Linked DNA regions of Homo sapiens: regions 1, 3, 4, 5, 6 and 7 are each linked to region 2. The links are contacts of gene promoters, found by promoter capture Hi-C in blood cells and fetal thymus (Javierre and others, 2016). All regions are on one chromosome and are shown on one strand. The core of a region is centred on a gene start or on the middle of the fragment in contact, and the rest is flanking DNA. Distances in the headings are between cores, read along the strand shown. Region 1 holds the start of MFAP3L (microfibril associated protein 3 like). Region 2 holds the start of MSMO1 (methylsterol monooxygenase 1). Region 3 holds the start of NEK1 (NIMA related kinase 1). Region 4 overlaps CLCN3 (chloride voltage-gated channel 3). Region 5 overlaps CLCN3 (chloride voltage-gated channel 3). Region 6 has its middle 8.9 kb from the start of HPF1. Region 7 has its middle 8.9 kb from the start of CBR4-DT.

What was found. Contacts are between HindIII fragments. The CHiCAGO score rates a contact against its expected background, and 5 or more counts as called.
Region 1: a fragment that was not itself captured here is called in contact with the fragment with the promoter of MSMO1 in region 2 in 9 of 17 cell types (total CD8 T cells, activated CD4 T cells, total CD4 T cells and 6 more); the score reaches 20.9 in total CD8 T cells.
Region 3: the fragment with the promoter of NEK1 here is called in contact with the fragment with the promoter of MSMO1 in region 2 in 5 of 17 cell types (non-activated CD4 T cells, total CD4 T cells, naive CD8 T cells and 2 more); the score reaches 11.9 in non-activated CD4 T cells.
Region 4: a contact is called between a fragment that was not itself captured here and the fragment with the promoter of MSMO1 in region 2, in 4 of 17 cell types (non-activated CD4 T cells, total CD4 T cells, erythroblasts and 1 more). The highest score is 12.0, in non-activated CD4 T cells.
Region 5: a contact is called between a fragment that was not itself captured here and the fragment with the promoter of MSMO1 in region 2, in 1 of 17 cell types (naive CD8 T cells). The highest score is 5.0, in naive CD8 T cells.
Region 6: a fragment that was not itself captured here is called in contact with the fragment with the promoter of MSMO1 in region 2 in 2 of 17 cell types (total CD8 T cells and naive B cells); the score reaches 5.2 in total CD8 T cells.
Region 7: a contact is called between a fragment that was not itself captured here and the fragment with the promoter of MSMO1 in region 2, in 5 of 17 cell types (total CD4 T cells, total CD8 T cells, activated CD4 T cells and 2 more). The highest score is 10.4, in total CD4 T cells.

What each region holds. Positions count from the first base shown.
Region 1 is chr4:170,026,180-170,029,176 of GRCh38, forward strand. MFAP3L (microfibril associated protein 3 like) reads right to left here and starts at 216. Exons shown (of 3, transcript NM_021647.8): 1 at 55-216. RefSeq lists silencers at 24-113, 194-593, 1,052-1,121 and enhancers at 593-1,312, 1,302-1,441. The HindIII fragment of the contact is 1,823 bases long and covers 733-2,555 here.
Region 2 is chr4:165,326,223-165,329,002 of GRCh38, forward strand. It overlaps MSMO1 (methylsterol monooxygenase 1), which reads left to right and starts at 1,447. Exons shown (of 6, transcript NM_006745.5): 1 at 1,447-1,542. RefSeq lists a silencer at 1,046-1,385 and an enhancer at 1,476-1,745. The HindIII fragment of the contact is 2,277 bases long and covers 3-2,279 here.
Region 3 is chr4:169,611,063-169,613,953 of GRCh38, forward strand. NEK1 (NIMA related kinase 1) reads right to left here and starts at 1,521. Exons shown (of 36, transcript NM_001199397.3): 1 at 1,160-1,521; 2 at 958-1,081. RefSeq lists enhancers at 994-1,113, 1,534-1,593. The HindIII fragment of the contact is 11,256 bases long and covers 1-2,891 here.
Region 4 is chr4:169,631,582-169,634,583 of GRCh38, forward strand. All of the region lies in intron 1 of CLCN3 (chloride voltage-gated channel 3), which reads left to right. Among named protein-coding and RNA genes, the nearest start is that of CLCN3, 13 kb to the left of the region's middle. The HindIII fragment of the contact is 6,464 bases long and covers 1-3,002 here.
Region 5 is chr4:169,667,846-169,670,693 of GRCh38, forward strand. The region is part of intron 2 of CLCN3 (chloride voltage-gated channel 3); the gene reads left to right. Among named protein-coding and RNA genes, the nearest start is that of CLCN3, 49 kb to the left of the region's middle. The HindIII fragment of the contact is 970 bases long and covers 1,005-1,974 here.
Region 6 is chr4:169,765,488-169,768,187 of GRCh38, forward strand. No RefSeq gene overlaps it. Among named protein-coding and RNA genes, the nearest start is that of HPF1, 8.9 kb to the left of the region's middle. The HindIII fragment of the contact is 1,359 bases long and covers 734-2,092 here.
Region 7 is chr4:169,017,947-169,020,767 of GRCh38, forward strand. No RefSeq gene overlaps it. Among named protein-coding and RNA genes, the nearest start is that of CBR4-DT, 8.9 kb to the left of the region's middle. RefSeq lists an enhancer at 1-265. The HindIII fragment of the contact is 5,591 bases long and covers 1-2,821 here.

The sequences.
Region 1 (2,997 bases), core at 394-2,893, 4.7 Mb after region 2:
GGCTGGCTCCCACCCGTGCCCCTCCGCCCCGGCCCGCCGGGGGCCCCCGCTAACCTGACACCGCCGCGCCACTCAGGTGGCCGCCGTGCACCCCTCGCCATGGCCAGCCCGACAGCGGCCGCTGCGCCGCACTCTGCGCCGGACGCCCGGTAGCGCCTACTGCGGGCGAGCCGCCTCCGCCGGCGCCTCACAGCGTTGCGAGCTGCGCCGCCGGCTGCCGGGAGCGCGGAGCTTCCCACCTACAGGAGCCTGGGCCGGCCGGGGCCGAGCATGCCCAGTGCGGCTCGCCGGGCGGCGCGGAGGCGCGGGTGTAGCCGCCGGGTTTTCGCGGCAGCCGCGGGCGGGGGCAGCGGGGCGGGCGGTGCGGCGCGAGCCAGTCGGTGCTGCGGAGCGGCCCCGCGGAGGAGCCACCGGAGGCTGTAGTTGCCGGGGAGTCCCGCATTCAGTCCGCTCAGCCTCTGGGCCGGGCCTCGGCGGCCCCCAGAGCCCCACACCCGCAGGCCCAGGGCCTCCGCGGCAGCGCGGGACTCTCACTCCGCTCTCTCTCCCGCCCGGGGCTTCCACCGCAACTTCTGTGGGCGTCGCATCGCACGCGTGTTCAAGGACACCCAGGAAAAGGCTTCTTAGGGTCCCATCCTGGGGCGCTAAATGGGAACCAGTCAACCCACCCCCAAGCCTACCCTGTCTCCTTGCAATCAAATGCAATCACGAGCAAACCACCTTGCTTCCGAAAGCTTCTCAGGCCTTCCCGGGCGACTGCGCTGTAAGTCTTAAACGTCTCTTAAAGCAAAGTCCACAGATGGAAGAGTCTGGAAAAAAACCCAGCGGGCCGTTCCCTGGTGACTTTCTGAGTGGTGGGGTTCCAGGAATTTTTTTTTCATTTTCTTTAAAAATATTATTTGTAATTTCCACGTTTTTTCTAATGAACCATAAGTTGATTTTTTAATTAAAAAGTAGAGTACTCTAAAATTATTAAGTACCTACAGAAGTTTCGCTACACGATCCTGCAATGTTAGTGGCTTCTTCTCCTCCTTATCTCCCTTTTTTTTTTTTTTTTTTTAATTTTAAAAGAGAACAGAGACTCTCAATTTCTGGGGCGGGACCAGGCTCCTTCCCCCGGCTTTTTAGTGCCCGCCCTCTTGGCCACACCCCACTCCGGCCTTTTTACTCCCGTACCGCCCTCTTCCCGGTGGGTTGCTGCGAAAACCCGGAAAGGTGGACTTTCCACATTGACGCTCCCGGCGGCTCCGGCAGCCAGACTGGGCATGTTCCGCCGCCGGGTCAGGCATTGCTGTGCCAAGAGAGGAGCTTTAGCAACTCTCAGTCTCTCTGCTCCTCTCTGTTCCTGGCAAACTGGCAAAGTAGTGCCTCTGACCCCACGCCCCGAGGTCGGACCTGCAGAAGTGGGTCAGGACCCGACTGAGCATGCTCCGGGCAGTGCCAGGCTGCCGCACGCGGCTGCATCTGGTTGCCCAAGGTTGATGTAGCCGCGGTCTCTCGTCACGACATCGAAGCTCGGGAAACGGATGGAAGCAGGGCTCTAGAGAGGCACGATTGCATCGACACGTGGGCAGGTCGCCCATGCCAAGGGCCATGTTGGTGGGTGGGTGCGTGGGATCTGTCGTATGAGTGAGTCAAAGCCTGATTTTTTCCCCCAAAAAGATTGAAATGAGATATCATATTTTAACATTAGTTTTATGGCATCTTGAATAGCAACACATTTTAGCTCAAGGAATTTTTCAGCTGTCCTTTTGAGAAACGTAAATTTTCTTTGTTTTTAAGTATTTAATAAGCATTCTTTACAATTGCACCACAGCGCGAACTTTCCACCTGCTTTATTAATTATGACATTTGTGTCCCCACTATTAAAATATTCCGCAGTATTATATCCCGTTTTCTTCTCCAGCATTTCTGCATTCACTCTGACTCTATTTCCTCCCCTCCCCCATCTCTTTTAAATTCTCAGACAACCTGCAAAATGCACTCTTGCTATCTTAGAAACCACTTGAGGTCGGTGTGGGGAACTTGCTTTTAATTCTCATTTAGAGAAGACAGTACTGAAATGGAGAAAAGTCACAGGGAAAGTACTTTTACAGATTGTAGATTAGTAAAGAACCCAAAGAGAGCCTTTCATTGAGAGCAGAAAGGCGAATGGAATTCGCTGTTTTCTGTCTAAGGAGGAGGAGGATGGGCAGGCAGGTCAGCTGCCCAGTGGGGCTTGGTGTGATAGTGGGAGTCACCCTTCATTTGAACCTCTCTGCCTTGCCCAGCTCCAGTTCAGCTTCAGCGTGGTCAGAGACACTATCTCTATGGAAGGTCACTCCTGGAAGAATACATTTACTTAGCTGCTTCCACCATGGAATCCTAGCTTGTGCTGGAGTGTCCCCTTCATCCTCCTCCTGTGCTTTGAGAATCCATTGTTGCTGGTATGCCCTGAGCAGTGCCCTTGAACTTGCCCAGGTACCCCTTGACATCCACACCACAAATAGTCTAGCCTTACAAAGGTGGACAAGATGTCTTTTCAACAGTCTGTACTGCCACTTCCATCCATCTGAAGCTTTCTGTTCCTGAGTCTGTCATGACATTAATCTTTCAAAAATCTTTCACAGAGATTTTTAGTCTCTACTAAAAATACAAAACAATTAGCCAGGCATAGTGGTGTGTGCCTGTAGTCCCAGCTACTTGGGAGGCTGAGGCAAGAGAAGCGCTTGAATCTGGGAGGCAGACGTTGTAGTGAGCAGAGATTGCGCCACTGCACTTCAGCCTGAGCAACAGAGTCAGACTCCATCTCAAAAATAATAAATATATATATATACACACACACACACACAAATAGTATGGATAAAGGGAAGACGCTGACCTATCAGAACAACTGCCTGATCAACCAGAAAGGATTCCAGAAATGAACACCTCGCATGGCCATGTGAGAACATACCAGCTAACACCCCTTTGACAGCGGCAATCATCAGAGAGGATGACAGCTCTCAGGAAGAAGAG
Region 2 (2,780 bases), core at 197-2,696:
CAAGCTTGGTTTAATTTCGTTCCCCCCACCCCTTTTTCCCAGATTAACTTCATAAAGTATATAGGCATGGTTTCAGACACCACTGTAAAGGCATCCTAAAGACAGGGCTGACTCTGACAACCAAGGGACAGATCCCATTTCTTTTCATTTGACGTGACCGCTGTCATGATACTTTACAAAGAATGTGTGTGCCAAACATGAGGGATAGACGAATAAGTACAGGTCACACTGAATCTAAAAAAGACACTTTTCAAGAGGGAACTTCCTCAAGGAGATAGTACCTGAATTGATGGGGCGGCATGGAGATGGCTGATTATTCCAGGCAGAAGGGCCAGTTTGAGCAAAAGCATGGAGGAATGAAACAATAGTATTCTGTTTTCAGAAGCTGTATATATTTGACACAATATACACATAATCAAAACATGTGTACGCCGTAAACACAATTTTTGTCAATTATACCTTAATAAAGAAGGAGGAAAAAGGGCCTTCACTAGCCCAAATGATGCCCCTGTGCGGTTTTTTCTTTAAAGGCACCTCTTCCGTTAAGTGAAAGTTTTAGTATATTATCACATCTGTACAGTTTTATTATTAAACCCCAGTACACAATATTTTAATGTTGAGAGATGGTGTAAACTGAGCTTTAGAGCTGCAAAGACCTGCGTCAAGCCCCCGCCCCCGCCCCCGCCCCCGGGCACTCATCGTCCAGCACAACAATTGCAACAACACCTGGGCGTTCTCTGCCCATGTAGCGAGGTCAAGGTCCTGGGAGCCGAACTCTCCCTTGATGTTCAATCTTTTTAAATCTTTCCCAGCCTTTATTTCTCATCTGCAAAATGACGATAATCGCATTTGAAATTCTCCGTTTTCAAAATGCAGGAATTTATTAAAGGATACGTAGGCTGGGGAAACAAGGGAGACGAAAGATCTAAATCTAAATGGTAGACCAGAAAAAGGAAGGCAAGGGTGTCTGGAAACACAAAACAGTCAACATAGATTTTAAGACTCATCTATACTCTCTTCTTCCCGGGTTTGGGAACTGCGGTTGCTACACAGGTCACATTTGAAATAAAAGTCCTGGGACGGCGGCCGGCGCGACACTCTCCCCCGCACAGCGCAGGCTCTCACTGGGAATCTGCCGGGACCGCAGTTGCCAAGGCGACTCCGCGCTGCAGGGCGAGGCGGCCATCCGTCTGTGCCCGCCCCCTCACGCCGTGGCGCGCTCTCACGCTTCCCCGCCTCCGGGCGCTCCGCGGTGCCGACCATTGGCTGGCTCTGCAGGTCTCACTATCCTCACTCCATCCGCGGAGCCAATGGCTGGGACCGCCAGGAGCTCGTTCGCGCGAGTCACACGATGTCGGCAACTGCACAGACCAATCACCGCGCCGAGAAGGCGGGGCGGGAGCTCTCGCAGGCCAATAACGACAGGACGGGCCGCCTGGCCCACCCGGCTCCACCCCCAAGCCAGGCGAGGCAGGTTCCGAGGTTGGAACACCTGGCGAGTCCTCGGTGTCGGTGGCCGGCAGTCATCTCGCGGCCGTTCAGGTGAGGGGGTTGGAGGAGTGGCTCATGAGCGAGGAAGGGGGAGCAGGCGGGCTCCCACCCGGTGCTCCGTGAGATCGAGGGGAGCGGGTTCTGGGTGCGGATGCACGCGCTGGGCGGGACGCTGGCAGTGGTACCCGAGACGGGGCGGAAGGAGACTGGAGTGAAGGTGGGCCTAGGCTAAGGTACGTGCTAGAAAGGATGAAAACGGAGTGAAATTCTTAAGTGATGGAACTAGGCTAGGGCATGTTTCTTGCCCTTTAAAATGTGTTGTCTTCGGGAGACAGGACGTAGAAGATAGTTGCAGCACAGGGTGATAGGCTGGCGAAAGTTATACAAAAGCAGGAACCACTAGAAGGAGGTAAGATGTAGTGTGCTTTGGGAGTAGTGGGGTTGGGAAGGGCGTCCGAGAGGAGGTTACTGAAGGATGACTAGGAGTTGAATGGGAGGACATCACCTGTAAGGGAACGATATTTCCGTGGGCAGAGAGGAATGAAGCAGTAGCAACCATGAGTGATCAGATACTGCAAAAATGTGAAGTGTAGGATGGCGAGAATGTAAGAAATGAAGAGTGAAGAAGTCTGGAAGGGCCTCGTGTGCATCAATCACAGCGGGGCTTGATCTTTATGCTTAGGGCAAGCACTCCCTTGAACTTTGAGTGTTTTAAGGAGGTTATCTCTGATGTTTAAATTTATATAGATCGTGGCATTGCATCTTAGAAATAAGGTTTAGGAAGGGCAAGCTTGGAGGCAGGGCAAGTCCAGAAAATGAAGGAGCTGGTGAAATCCGTGTTAAAGTGCCAAAGGACAGAGACTGGCTGACAGCTAAACTTCAAGGTTTCTGAGAATCCACAAATAACTAAATTTATCTAGTCAACCTGTTCCAGAACAGGCTTCCAGTCATTTAGGTTGCCCAAGAATGAGTAAAGGAAAAGGAAATTCAATTTTCCAAGACCTTGTTTCCCCTCTCCTCTTTAATTCCTTGTTCGGTTAGCAACAGTATATCCATTCCCTCGCTCCTTTGTGAAAAGTAAATTCCTGAATGTTAACTAAACCAAGTGTTTCTAAATTGGGTAAGAGTTTGAAGACTTAAGGCAGCAGAATGGGAGAGACTTAAAACGTTATGTCTGAGAATTAGGCATTAAAGGAGGCCTAGTATTTGGGCGGGGGTTGTGAGGAGCACATACTGAACCTTTGGACCTGTTGAGTGAGTTCATGTGCCTCTGAACTCTCTGACTGGAT
Region 3 (2,891 bases), core at 271-2,770, 4.3 Mb after region 2:
GTAGTAGAAACTACCAACAGGTAAATAAAGAATGTACATTCGTGAAAAGGTGTCATGTTCATGACTTAGACTAGAAGGCAGGAGATTAGACAGGGCAAAATTTACTTGGAATACAATGTCAATGTACTATTCACACGACCTCAAAAGAACTTCTGTGGTCAAGTCCGACGACCTTTATTAAATTCCTGACAGTGACTTTTAACGTGAAAAAAACCTGTTTTCCCACAAAATAGGCTCCTTACATTTCACCTAGAACAATGGATATTTTAAGTGAAACAGATCTGTAGAACCTCTAAAACCAGACAAATGTAAACTAGAAACAAGGAGTTACTTCTCTCCAAATTTGGCTCCCCTCCATCAGCTCTACAATACTGCTGCATCATAAAAAAAGGTCATTAACTTAGATTGGATGCCACTTTTAATCCTTCATAAACATTTCTAATGAAACATACCAAGGCAATAAAAAATATTTCTGCTTCCTAAAGCAGATCTTAAAGAACAAAAAATAGGCCTGCAAAAAAAGTTATGATAAACTCTTAAAGTAGTACAACAATTAATGCCTTACATATGGAAACTGTGTCAAATCATGGAAACAGAAATCTAAGATTACAGGGTAACCAGCTAACTACTACTCATATTCGCTTCCTAATTAAAATTTATCAGTAATTTAAGATTGGACACAACATAAGCAATGCAAATGCTTGCTTATCCATACTAAGATTCCTATTATTTTAATCCCATTACCGCTCTAGTTTTTAAAAATACCGTAATGTCCAAGAATCGCTTTGTTAATACAGAGTGTCTTAGAGAATTAACATTTAAATGAGATTAAGGTATTTTCCCTGCAAACACTTAAGGTATCTGTGTAATCTCAATATAAGCAGTTCTACGCACATCTCATTTCCAGGATGATTTTTACCATTTTGCATGTCATTCCTTCCCCCAAGTGGAACTCACCTCAGTGACACAGGACGTTAGTAGGAATAACGGTGATGACTAATAAGCATCAGTCTAGGTGTGGCAGTCTTCCTACGGGGCTTAATAAAGCAGAGGTACCATCCCGCATTTTGAAAATGACATCCTGAAAGAGAAACCAAGACTGTCTAACCAGCAGCAGCTCACAGTCCAGACTGAAAGGGGGCACTGAGACTCTCCACACCTGACACTCGTCTTCAGTTGATACCACGGGTTTGACTCCGTCCTGTCTCGGGCGACGCCCGTAAGACAGGTCGACACTACCCCGACGAAACAAACAAACTGGTTTCTGAGCCCCGTAGAAACGGCGGGGTGCAGCAGGGGGAGTGCCTCCGTTACCGCCTCTCCAACTTCACAGAGGTCGTTGCTAGTGGCCACGGCGGGGTGGGGACGGGCGGCGTTCGGGACTGGGAAGCTACTTGACTGCCACGTGCTCCTGCCTCGCAACAGCGGCTCTAGATTCCGAGTTATGGGGACAACTGCTCGAGAGGCCAGGGTAGGGTAAGGACTCCGCAACCTAGGGTCCCAAAACCCTGGAGCGAATGCGGACTAAGGGAGAGCGGCCGGCGCGTCACCGGCGCTGGCGTGTGACGTCAGCGCGTGGAAGGCGGCACGCAGCGGAGGCGGCTGGGAAGGAGCAGTGAGGCTGGGCTAGAACCGTAGGGTCGGGCGGGGTGCTGTGCGAAGGGGCGGGCGGGGTGCTGTGCGAAGGGACGGGAGGGGCGGGCTCTGCAGGCGGGAAGACAGAAAGGACGAGACGGGAGAGATGAAAAGGATGGAGAGAGTGTAAAGCTGTTAAGAGTCATGCAGAGATGCGGGAGAGAACTCACTAGTTGAAACCAATTTGGAATATAAAGCATATAAAATTTTCCCACAGCTACTACACCGAGAAAGGGACTTTTTTATTTTACATGAAAGCGCACTACTTAGGGATGCCACATTTTAAAGAGCAATTTTGCTTTAAAAAGCAAGTCTTTTCCTATTATATCTTGGATGGTTGAAACAGAAGAATGTTTAAGTCTTGAGATATTTTTAAAAAGCTGTATGGGGTTTTCTACACCTTTACATCTAATGTATGTATAAATTACTTGTCTGTATGTTGAAGGGTTTGGAAATGTACAGCAGTCTAAGTACATTTTTTCACTGCAGGACTGGCGAAGGTAGGAAGAGATTCCCCTAAAACTATAATAAGGGATATCATCTGGCGTCATCCTGAGTGGCCCTACTCAGGGCAACTTTATTCCTAGGGACATTGAAAGATTTTGGCGGCTTTGCCAGACGATGGCGCTGCAAGTCACCCAACCTGAAAAGCTGGAGAGTTTGTTTTATCTCCTCTTCAATCGCCATACAGCTACAAAAGACTTATTTTCCTCATTCTTTCTACTTCTAGTCTACACTCCTGTGGGCCCTCCTACCCCCAGTTAGTAGGAATTATCATGTCTGAATGCACAATTGTAGTTCTACCCACATCCTTTTGTACATCAAAGTGAAGTGAAATGTTGCCAATTACTAATCTAAGCAAATTCTTTTTGCTGCTTACAGGAAGAATGGCTAGTCAGCTAACCTCCTTAGATAATTCTTTAGGCTCATGTCATAAACTATTGGTAGGACTACAAACTGCTACAGTCTTTCTAGAAGGTATGCTAGCAGTATGCATATCCTTTGACTCAGCAATTTAACTTCTGGAACAAGTGAGCAATGATTTATATACAAGGATAACCGTTATTGTTTATAACCAGAAAAACTAGAAATACTGTAAATGTATAACAATAAAGAATTGATTAAATTATAATATATCCAAACAATGAAATACTCTAAAGCCATTTAAAAGAGTAATCAAGATCTACTTTATTGACATACAAAGATACCATTGATATATTGATGAGTAAATAAAGCAGGTTACCTAAGAAGATTAC
Region 4 (3,002 bases), core at 277-2,776, 4.3 Mb after region 2:
CCGGCCGTCTTTGCCCACTTTTTAATAATGTTGTTTTTTGCTTGTTGAATTGTTTGCTTCTTGTAGATTGTAGATATTAGACCTTTGTCAGACGTTAGCTAGATTAACAGAGAAAGAGACAAGATCCAAATCACCACACAATCAGAAACAACAAAGGTGACATTACAACCAATCCCATGGAAATACAAAAGATCCCCAGAGACTATTATGAACACATCTGTAAACACGAACTAGAAAATCTAGAGGAAATGGGTAAATTCTGGAAACAGCCTCCCAAGATTAAATCAGGATGAAATTGAAATCCTGAACAGACCAATATCGAGTTCCAAAATGGAATCGGTAATAAAAAATCTACCAACCAGAAAAGCCCTGGACCAGATGTATTCATAGCTGAATTCTATCAGATGTACAAAGAAAGCTGGTACCAATTCTACTGAAACGACTCCAAAAAATGAGGAGGGGCTCCTCCTTAACTCATTCCAGCTTCACCCCGATACCAAAACCTGGCAAAGACACAATGAAAAAGGAAAAGTACAGGTCAATATCCCTGATGAACATAGATGTAAAAACCTTCAACAAAATATTAAGAGAGTGAGTTGTTAAAGAGAAGAGGGTATGATCCAGGCAGAGGGAGCAACAAAGGCCTTGGGGCAGGAGTCAGGAAAGAGCTTGATAGGACTGAGAGATTGAAAGATCAGTGAGTCTAGAGTACTTCAGGAAGTACATACTTCTCAAAGTAAGATATACAACTGGCCAACAAGCATGTGAAAAAATGCTCAACATCACTAATGATTAGCGAAATGGAAATCAAAACCACAGTGAGACACCATCTCACGCCAGTCAGAATGGCTATTAAAAGAAGCTGGGGCCAGGCGCGGTGGCTCAGGCCTGTAATACCAGCAATTTGGGAGGCCGAGGCGGGCGGATCACGAGGTCAGGAGATTGAGACCATGGTGAAACCCCGTCTCTACTAAAAACACAAAAAATTAGCCGGGCGCAGTGGCGGGCGCCTGTAGTCCCAGGTACTCGGGAGGCTGAGGCAGAAGAATGGCCTGAACCCAGGAGGCGGAGTTTGCAGTGAGCAGCGATCGCGCCACTGCACTCCAGCCTGGGTGACAGAGCGAGACTCCATCTCAAAAAAAAAAAAAAAAAAAAAAAAAAGTGCTGGGGAACTAGCAGGGGTTGGGCTGCATAGAACTTTTTCTGCTATATTAAAGAGTTTGTTTCTTAAGGGTAGCAGGAAATGATTAAGAGATGTTAACATGGAATGGAGAGAGATTATGAGCAAACTTACTTTTTGGAAAAAAAAACTGTGCTGGCTGCAGTGTCATCAGATTCGAAGGAAGCAAAATAATTGCACGTAGATAATATAGGAATTTATTAGGTAAACGAGGCCTTATTACTGGAAGTTTTCATAGTTTATCTCTGATTATTATTATTACTTTGTTTGAGACAGAGTCTCACTCTGTTTCCCAGGCTGGAGTGCAGTGGCATAATCTCAGCTCACTGCAACTGCCGCCTCTCTGGCTCAAGCGATTTTCATGCCTCAGGCTCCTTAGTAGCTGGGGTTACAGGCGGCTGCCACCACGCCCGGCTAATTTTTTATTTTTAATAGAGATGGGGTTCACCACCATGGCCAGGTGGGTCTTGAGCTCTTGACCTCAAGCGATCCAGCTGCCTCGGCCTCCCAAAGTGCTGGAACTACAGGCATGCGCCACCACACCCAGCTTATCTCTAATTTTTATAATTTTGTAAGAATATATTTACAAGCTACTGTGTATCTATTACAATGTTTTGAAATGATTATAAGTATATTTTTGGTGATTAAAATGGAAAAGGTGACTTTGCATTATTTTTTTTAAATATGTAAAATTTCATCTGCTGTGTTAGAGTCTAAATAGCCTTTTGTGCCCAAGCCTGGGAATTGGGTTTAGAACCTGAAAATATTTAACACTAGTGTTCAGATTTCCTTCTGTTATATGTCCTTTATGCTACTATAGAAATTTGAATATTTTATAGCAGTGCTGTTCAATAAAAGTGTTAGTGCTGCAAATGCAAGCCACATAGGTAATTTTTAATTTTTCAGTAGCCACATTAAAAAGGTAAAAAGAAAGTGGTGAGATTCATTTCAAATATATTTTATTTAACCCAATGGATCTAAAATATTTCAACATGTAATCAGTATAAAATTTCTAGTCAAATATTTGACATCCTTTTTAAATATTAAGTCTTAGAAATCTGGTAGGTATTTTACACTTAGAGCACATTTCAGTTTGGACCAGCCATGTTTCAATGGCTCGATAGCCGTATGTATGCTGGCTGCTGCATCAGTCAGTACAGCTCTATAGGTTTCTGGGTTAATACGTGGAATAGTTTTTTTTTTTTATCTTAAGTTATCAAATTTATAGAAATAGAAACCCATGCAGGCCTGGGTTTAATTGGTTTATTTGGAGCAGAGTTGCATGCTTGTGTTACAAAGAATGATCTGCAGGCTAGGTGTCTCAAAGGTATTATGAAATTAATTTTTTTAACGGAAATAGTTAAATTTCCAGTTACCACTTACGATTTTTGAGAGACTTTTAGGGATAAAATGGAGGAGATATATTGGAATTTGCTGATTGAAGTATTAACACATAAAAAGGTTTAATGATTTTACAGAGATTTCTTAGTGCTGTGTAGCCTCTAGCTAATGTTCACTGAAATGTTATCATATGTATTAAGCCCTTCTATTCTGTAAAGAAATAAAAACAGAGTGTCTGTGTTCTTCACAAAAATCTTAGCATACATGCTTTGATACATCAAAATTAAATGATTCTTAAGCTATTAATGTTTATGTTTTTAAAAGCCTTTTGGTAATTTTCTCAAAAGCCACATAATATTTAATTTGTTTGCCTCTATGGAACTGCAGATTTCTTAGTATGAACAACTACTTTCATACTTTCCTATTGTTTTAATTAATATACTCTAACAAATCTCATCTCAGTATAATATGCCATCTTTGG
Region 5 (2,848 bases), core at 240-2,739, 4.3 Mb after region 2:
AGTGATTCTGCTGCCTCAGCTTCCCGAGTAGCTGGGACTACAGGCATATGCCACTATGCCCGCCTGATTTTTTTTAGTAGAGATGGGGTTTCACCATATTGGCCAGGCTGCTCTTGAACTCCTGACCTCGTGATCCACCTGCCTCAGCCTCCCAAAGTTCTGAGATTACAGGTGTGAGCCACCGCGCCCGGCCAGACATTTTTTTTTTTTTTTTTTTTTTTGCTGTCTTTGTCATATTGTTAGTCTTTTGGTTAAGCGATATTATAACTTAGTCATATGAGTAATATAATGCAACATGCTGAATTGTGTGTGTGAGAGGGGGTTGTTTTTTGTTTGTTATTTGTTTTTTAAATAGAGATGAGATCTCACTGTGTTTCCCAGGCTCCCTTGAACTCCTGGGCTCAGATGATATAGCCTCCTGCCACAGCGTCCTGATTAGCTGGGACTACAGGTGTGCACCACTACACGTGGCTTTCCTGATGAAATTTTAAATACCCAAATATTTGAGCAGAAATAATAGCTTGTGTTTATTGTTTTTCTACTATCTGTCAAGTATAGTATTAAATGTTTTACATAATTTGTCTCCAGTCCACATACAATACTCTAGTAGAAGTGGGTAACAAAACCAAGGTACTCAAAGAGGTTAATAAGTAACTTGCGCTGGATCACAGAACTAACGGGAGGCAGGGCTGGAATTTGACTCTAGGTCTTTCTGACCTCAAAGTGCAGTAAAGTCATGGAATTTCTCTACTAGGCCACCTGGAAGAAAAGTGATCTTTTTTCCAGTCTTTTTTGTTACTGTTTTTCAGCCAGGAGATAGTAGAGTTAGGTAGTAGAATAGTAGTCACTGGCATCCGGTAGTCAGCCCTCCAAAAAAGTTTTTGATTTTTTTTTTTTTTTGTCTTAAACTTGGAAGCTACTAACTTTCAGGTCATACTTTCTTATCATCCAAGAGCTGGATATTTAGGTAGCAGAAACTATGGAATTATCCTAAGTCCTCTTGAAGCTTCAGCTGTTAAAATTAATTGGTTCTGATTAACACTGTGCTCAAGATTTACATTTCTAGGAGCCACAGTTTGATTGGTCTAACTTGGATCTATGTGTTTTCTTTAGCTGGGGAGGAGAAGGTATCTTGATTGATACCTTCACCAGGACTGCATGCAGTGAGGGACAGAAGTTTCCTTAAAATAATTGGGTTCTGTTATAGGAAGAAGGGGAAGGAGATACCAAGTGGGCAAAACAATCAGGTTCTATTACATAAATAATAAACCTAATGTGACGATAATAAATGGATAATATGATTATTTTAAGTTTGGAAATATACCTGGTTATTAGTATTGGATATCTGGTAGTGGGGTTGGAGAAAAAGTCGAGAATAAGAAAAGACTTAAAATCGTAAAAATTAACTGGAAAAGAGGATGGCTGAGCAGATACATATATGTTAGATAATGTTCATAATGGCAAACCAACCTGAAGATTTGTTTAAATTGTAGTATGTAGCCAGGTGTGGTGGTGCTTGCCTGCAGTCCCAACTACTTGGGAGGCTGAGGCAGGATGATTGCTTGAGCCTAGGTTTGAGGCTACAGTGAGCTATGTTTCCACCACTGCTTTCCAGCCTAGGTGGCAGAGCAAGACCCCATCTCTAAAAAAATAAAGTAAAATGAATAAATTATAATATGTTATGACAAATATAGTTATCTGAAGTCACAGAAAATGTGCATGTGCATTTAATGATGTGAAATAATTTTTAGGAAGTATGAATAAAAAAATCAACTTTTAAGTGTGGCTAGTATGATCTTACCTGTATCTCACTTATAGAAAATATAAAAGGCTGAAGCCAGTCACCAGTTTAATAGTTCTAACCTCTTGTTTACTTGATTCCCTTTTTTCTCCTCCCCAGCAATCCTCATATAGTTAGGTAAAGTTGGTTCTTCATCAGGCTTGTTGCAGAAACCCCTAAGCCTTTTTACTTAAAGCTTTTTGAAACCCAGAAACCCATCTTTTGAATTCAAAAGTTTTGACTGTTATTAGTCTTTTTGTATGTTTGTTGGCCGCATAAATGTCTCCTTTTTATGAACAGAGAAGTGTCTGTTAATATACTTTGCCCACTTTTTGATGGGGTTGTTTGTTTTTTTCTTGTACATTTGTTTAAGTTCCTTGTAGATTCTGGATATTAGACCTATGTCAGATGGATAGATTGCAAAAGTTTTCTCCCATTCTGTAGGTTGCTTGTTCATTCTGATGATAGTTTCTTTTACTGTGCAGAAGCTCTTTAGTTTAATTAGATCCTATTTGTCTGTTTTGGCTTTTGTCGCCATTGCTTTTGGTGTTTCAGTCATGAAGTCTTTGCCAGTGCCTATGTCCTGAATGGTATTGCCTAGGTTTTCATGGTTTTGGGTTTTACATTTAAGCCTCAAATCGATCTTGAGTTAATTTTTGTATAAGGTGTAAGGAAGGGGTCCAGTTCCAGTTTTCTGCATATGGATAGCCAGTTTTCCCAGCACCATTTATTAATATTAAATAGGGAATCCTTTCCCCATTACTTGTTTTTGTCAAGTTTGCTGAAGATCAGATGATTGTAGATGTGTGGTGTTATTTCTGAGGTCTTTGTTCTGTTCCGTTGGTCTGTATATGTGTTTTGGTACCAGTACTATGCTGTTTTGGTTACTGAGCCTTGTAGTATAGTTTGAAGTCAGGTAGTATGATGCCTCCAGCTTTGTTATTTTTGCTTAGGATTGTCTTGGCCATACGGGCTCTTTTTTGGTTCCATATGAAATTTAAAGTAGGTTTTTCTAATTTTGTGAGGAAAGTCAATGGTAGCTTGATGGGAATAGCGTTGAATCTATAA
Region 6 (2,700 bases), core at 163-2,662, 4.4 Mb after region 2:
CCATCTCTAAAAAATACAACAATTAGCCGGGCTCGGCTTATGCCTATAATCCTAGTACCTGGGTGGCTGAGGCAGGAGAATCACTTGAACCTGAGAAGCAGAGGCTGCAGTGAGCCGAGATCCCACCACTGCACTCCAGCCTGGGCAACAGAGCAAGACTCTGTCTCAAAAAAAAAAAAAAAAAGAGAATATTTTTACAAGTTTTTTCTTTTTTTTTCAATCTTTGTGCACTTTGAAGGCCATAGATGTCATAGCTAGCTTCTTAAGCATTTCTTTCTGCCTTTGTTATGAGAGCTGCTGAAAATTAAAGACAAGACAAGATGCCACTTAGGATCCCAGGACTTGAGAGTGTAGCCAGACATTCAGCATTAACGTGTATTCAGGGCAGAATAACCACATAGAGCAGCACATGTGTAAGGAATTACAGGCTTATCCAATTGAATTTCTAAGGTTCTAAATGATGGAAGTCATTCACTCTGGCAGTCAGGATTGAGCTGAGTCCTGTGACTCACGCTGTTGGCCAACCCTGGAGGATAAATCAGCTTTGAGAAGGCCCAGAGCCCCCATAGCCTTATGATTCTGATTCCCAAATAGGCTGTAAAATAGGACTTCTTTTAGGGGCTATTCATAGCAGGGGGACCTAATTTGGGAGATATGGGTGATTGTATTGCAGAAGAAACAGATTTGGGAAGGATAAACTTTTTTTCTAATTTGCTGTATAAAAGTTAGCAGAAGCTTCAGGCAGAGCTGATCCTAGACAATTGTTATTGATGGGCTGCAAATGAGCTGTAGCATTAATCTTTGACACTGCACTCTTGGCCTTACCTTTGGCCACTTTGACTCTGGCAAATTATACAGCTAAATGGTGGTGAAACTGGTCTGCCCAATTATGCTTAATCCAGATCAGTTACTCTGGGACCATGTAACCCTTAATTAGCACTAGTTGGATGATCCAAACACATCTTTGAAAGGCCCCAGAGGTTCTCCAGTCTTCATATTTACAGTGGATGAAAATTCCAGCTGATTCGCCAATTCTTTTCCTACCACAATTTCTTAGAATCTAGCTCTGAGCACAAACTGGCACATAATGGGTGCTCAGTAAATATTAATTGGCTTATCGACCTCTTTAATGAATAGCAGTCACCATCATTAAATAGTTACTTGCCCATCCTTTCATCCATTCAGTTATTTGTTCATTCAGAACATTTATTAAGTCCCAATTATGTGTCAGAACTATGTTAGGCACTGAAAAGACCAAGATGACACAGTTGCTATGTTCCAGGAGCTTATAGTGTACTGAGGAGTCCTATAAATGTACAGTCAGTATTCCTGCTAGTCACATAGAAGCAGTGTAAGAATTATGTAAGTCTTTATCACACTCCAACCTTCCAGACACATTGCTCCAGAGTAGTCTCTTTAAAAGAATTGATCTAATCATTTTACTCTGTGACTATCACAGAGTTGATCAGAGCAAAAATTCTGAACGACTAGTGTTACCACCAGGAAATAAGAAGTGACACAACAAAGGGCGATATGGTAGAGAGCAAGCTCAGGTAATATGAGGAGTTTGCGAGGTGATGTTACAAGGGAACATCAAAAGCAGCAACTGAGATCAAGATTGTGGAAAATAGCCAAGGAAACAGGAGCTGGGAATGTAGGGAGCAGTTACTAGAAGGATCCAACAGGATATTACTATTGAGTAATTGCCTTGTATAAGGTCATTCTCCTCACCTTCCAAGTTATGTGTTTAATTTCTGAATATAAAGTTATACTTAATTTTAGGGCTGGGTGCAGTGGGTTATTCCTGTAATCCCAGCACTTTGGGAGGCTGAGGTGGGAGGATCACTTAAATCCAGGAGTTTGAGACCAGTCTGGGCAACATAGCAAGACCCTGTCTCTATAAAAAGTAGTAATAATTTTAGAAAATTTGAATACTATCTAAAAATAAAAAGAAAATTAATTATATTATGCCACCTAGATGTAGCCTCAGACAATATTTGGTATATTCAGTATTTTTCTACATGTATCTTATTATAGTTTGTTAAATGAAATAATGCTGCACATAAAATTTGGTAATAGGCCTTAAAAAGTAAGCTTAATAACAAATAAACATTGTAAAAATGCTTCATCAATATTTTAATGGCTACATAAATATGCCATTGGACAAATGTTTGATAAAGTAACTGTTCTCGTAGTTATAAGTTTTTACTGTGTGTCATAACTTTTTATTGCTATGTATAACCCTGTGGTCAACATTTTTGTACATAAGGTTTTAAAAAATATTTTGGAATATTACCTTAGTTTAAATTCTTAGAGGAACTGCTGGCTTCACAGACAGGAATAAACTTAGTGTCATAATCCATATTCCCAAATTGCTTTGTAAACAAGGCAGTCTGAAATTGAACAAAACAATGTACCACATTGTGACTACAGTTAAGAATATTGTATTGCATATTTAAAATTTGCTAGGAGGGCAGATCTTACATGTTCTAACCACATACACACACAAAGGTACTGTGTGAGGTGATGCTATGTTAATTAGCTTGATTATGGTGATAATTTCACAAAAATATATGTATATTAAAACATCAAGTTGTACACCTTAACTATATAGAATTTTTATTTGTCAATTATATCTCAATAAGGTGGGGGTGGGGAAGGAGAGTAAAATAAAAACGTTTTAAAATAAATAAATAAACA
Region 7 (2,821 bases), core at 137-2,636, 3.7 Mb after region 2:
TGAGGCCGTAAGAGCCCCCTTCTCTGCTGTCCTCTGTTTTAAATTTCTCCTTCCTGCAGACCCACTTTATTTACTAATCACACAGTTGAAAATGGCTGAGCCCCATAGGACTTTTCAGTTCAAGGGATTAAACTCTGACTCCCTTTGTTCAAGACAGAGAATTGGATTGGTTGTTAATGAGGGGATAGATTAGCGCCTGTGGAGAGCAGTTCTCGGGGGAGGCAGGTTGCCATGTGAGTGAGTGGGGTGCTCAAAGGCGGAAGGTGCACCCGCAGCCAAGCACCATTGCCACAGGGGCTCAGTGTGGGCGGCCTTATTAAAGGAGGCTTGGCTGGGCATGTGCTCCCCAGCAGATCAGATACACCATACAAGCAGCATCCCCCTAGGGGATCTTTGCTCAAAATAAGCTCTGTTTTAAATGCAACATGTACACCATTTAGTCTCCTTAACAGACTACTGCCTTTTTCTCTTTTTCAAATATTATTAGCTGAGCTCAATGCCCCATGAAATCTGTAAATGTTTTGTTCCAAGTAACCAGTAGTGAGTCCCAGAACCAGCACCCAACATATAATAATATGAAGAGAAATGGAAGAGGAGGTGATAATGTATGAGGAGAGAGATACGAATTTTTAAGAAGTGAAACAGACACCAATCCTATAAGGAATATGAATCAGTCCCCTCTGGCAAGTAATACTCATAATTTGCTTAACTTACTGAGTTGAGGAGTACATATTTATGGGTCCCTATATAACCTATGAGTGGGAAAAAATGGGCCAAAATTCACCTTATTTTTAAAAATGACATATTAATTTATTTGGCTAATTTACTAGGCTAGCCATTAAACCACAATAATTTTAAATAAATGAGTATAAAGTAGATGATCCTTAACCAAAACTATGGAATGTATCCTTTTTCCCTTCTACTAAATAGAGATGGAATAAATCAGTTGAAAAGAATTGGCTTAGAAGGTGACAGAGGCCTGGCACCATGGCTCACGCCTGTAATCCCAACACTTCAGGAGGCCAAGGTGGGAAGATCACTTGAGCTCAGGAGTTTGAGACCAGCCTGGGCAACACAGAAAGACCCTGTGTCTACAAAATTAAAATTGAAAAATTATCTGTGTGTAGTGGTGCGTGCCTGTGGTCCTAGCTCCTTGGGAGACTAAGGTGGGAGGATTGCTTGAGCCCAAGAGGTCTAGGCTGCAGTCAGCTGTGACCATGCCACAGCACTCTAGCCTGGGTGACAGACAGAGACCCCCTGTCTCCAAAAATAAAAAAAGTGACAGATGACAACATGAATACTTTTCATTCACAACATACACTCTAACTGTTTCAGGCAAAATTCCATAAATATATATAAAACTGGCAATATAGCATCATATATAACTCTGGGTTTAGTCTACTGAATTTGAATTCTGGCTCTACCACAAGCTGTGTAATCTTGGGCAAGTTATTAAACTCTCTGGGTTAAGATTTCTTTATGCAAAAAATAGGGAAAATAATACTGGCATGAGGTTATTGACAGCCATAAGATAGGTTGATCCTATATAAAATACTTAGCACGATGCCATCGCCTTACAATTATTAATAATTAGTAGCACCTCCTTTCAATAGGAAATAGGCATTCTGGACTTATGCATCAGACAGCCATAGTTTAGCCATCACTATTGAGAGACTTGCCTTATATTATTATTCTGGTTTCTCAGGTCAGAAAACATTTTCTTCTGTTTTTGTTTTTCTTCTGATATTCCTTACTTCTTGTATCTCACACAAAATATGTCAGTCACAATTCTGGGTCTGGCATGGTGGCTCATGACTATAAGCCCAGCACTTTGGGAGGCCGAGGTGGGTGGGTCACTTCAGGTCAGGAGTTTGAGACCATCCTGTCCAACATGGTGAAACCTTGTCTCTACAAAAAAATACAAAAATTAGCCGGGCATGGGGCACGTGCCTGTAATCCCAGCTACTCAGGAGGCTGAGGCAGGAGAATCACTTGAACCCAGGAGGCGGAGGTTGCAGTAAGCTGAGATCGCACCACCGCACTCCAGCCTGGGTAACAGAGCAAGACTCCATCTCAAAAAAATAATAATAATAAAAGTAAATAAATCAATAAATTCTGGCTTCTAACTTCCATTTCTTTCAAATCAATGTATTAAAAATATATATCTGAGGTCTGAGGGTTCAACCTGAACAAGTTTATTTATTTGTAAAAGATTATCCTCAAATATATTTCTAAAGTTCCAGTCCTCAGAATAACATAATAAAGCGTATTTCCCTGTTAGCATCTATTACATCCTCATTTTCCTTTTTAGCACAAGTCTGGACTTATGTGGAATTCTGGGAGACGTTTTGAAGCTATTGATGAAGTGGTGAATCCAACAGAAATAGATACACATGCAAAGCAGTGTGTATTGGACATGAATCACCATAGGGGTGTCTCATCCTCATCGTATCTATGAAGAAGAGATGTTAACACACACCAGCCTAACAGCAATAGCATAGATGACACAGGGAAGACATGGAATGTTTTTCTTTCCTCTCGCTTTGTTTTATTTTTTATTTTTGTCTTATTTATTTATTTATTTATTCAAGATAGGATCTCGCTCTGTCACCCAGGCTGGAGTGCAGTGGCTCAATCTTGGCTCACTGTAGCCTTGACCTCCTGGGCTCATACAGTCCTCTCATCTCAGCCTCCCAAATAGCTGGGACCTCAGGCGCATGCCACCATGCCTGGCTAATTTTTTTGTATTTTTTTGTAGAGATAGGATCTCACTATATTGCCCAAACACATCTCGAACTCCTGGACTCAAGCGATCTGCATG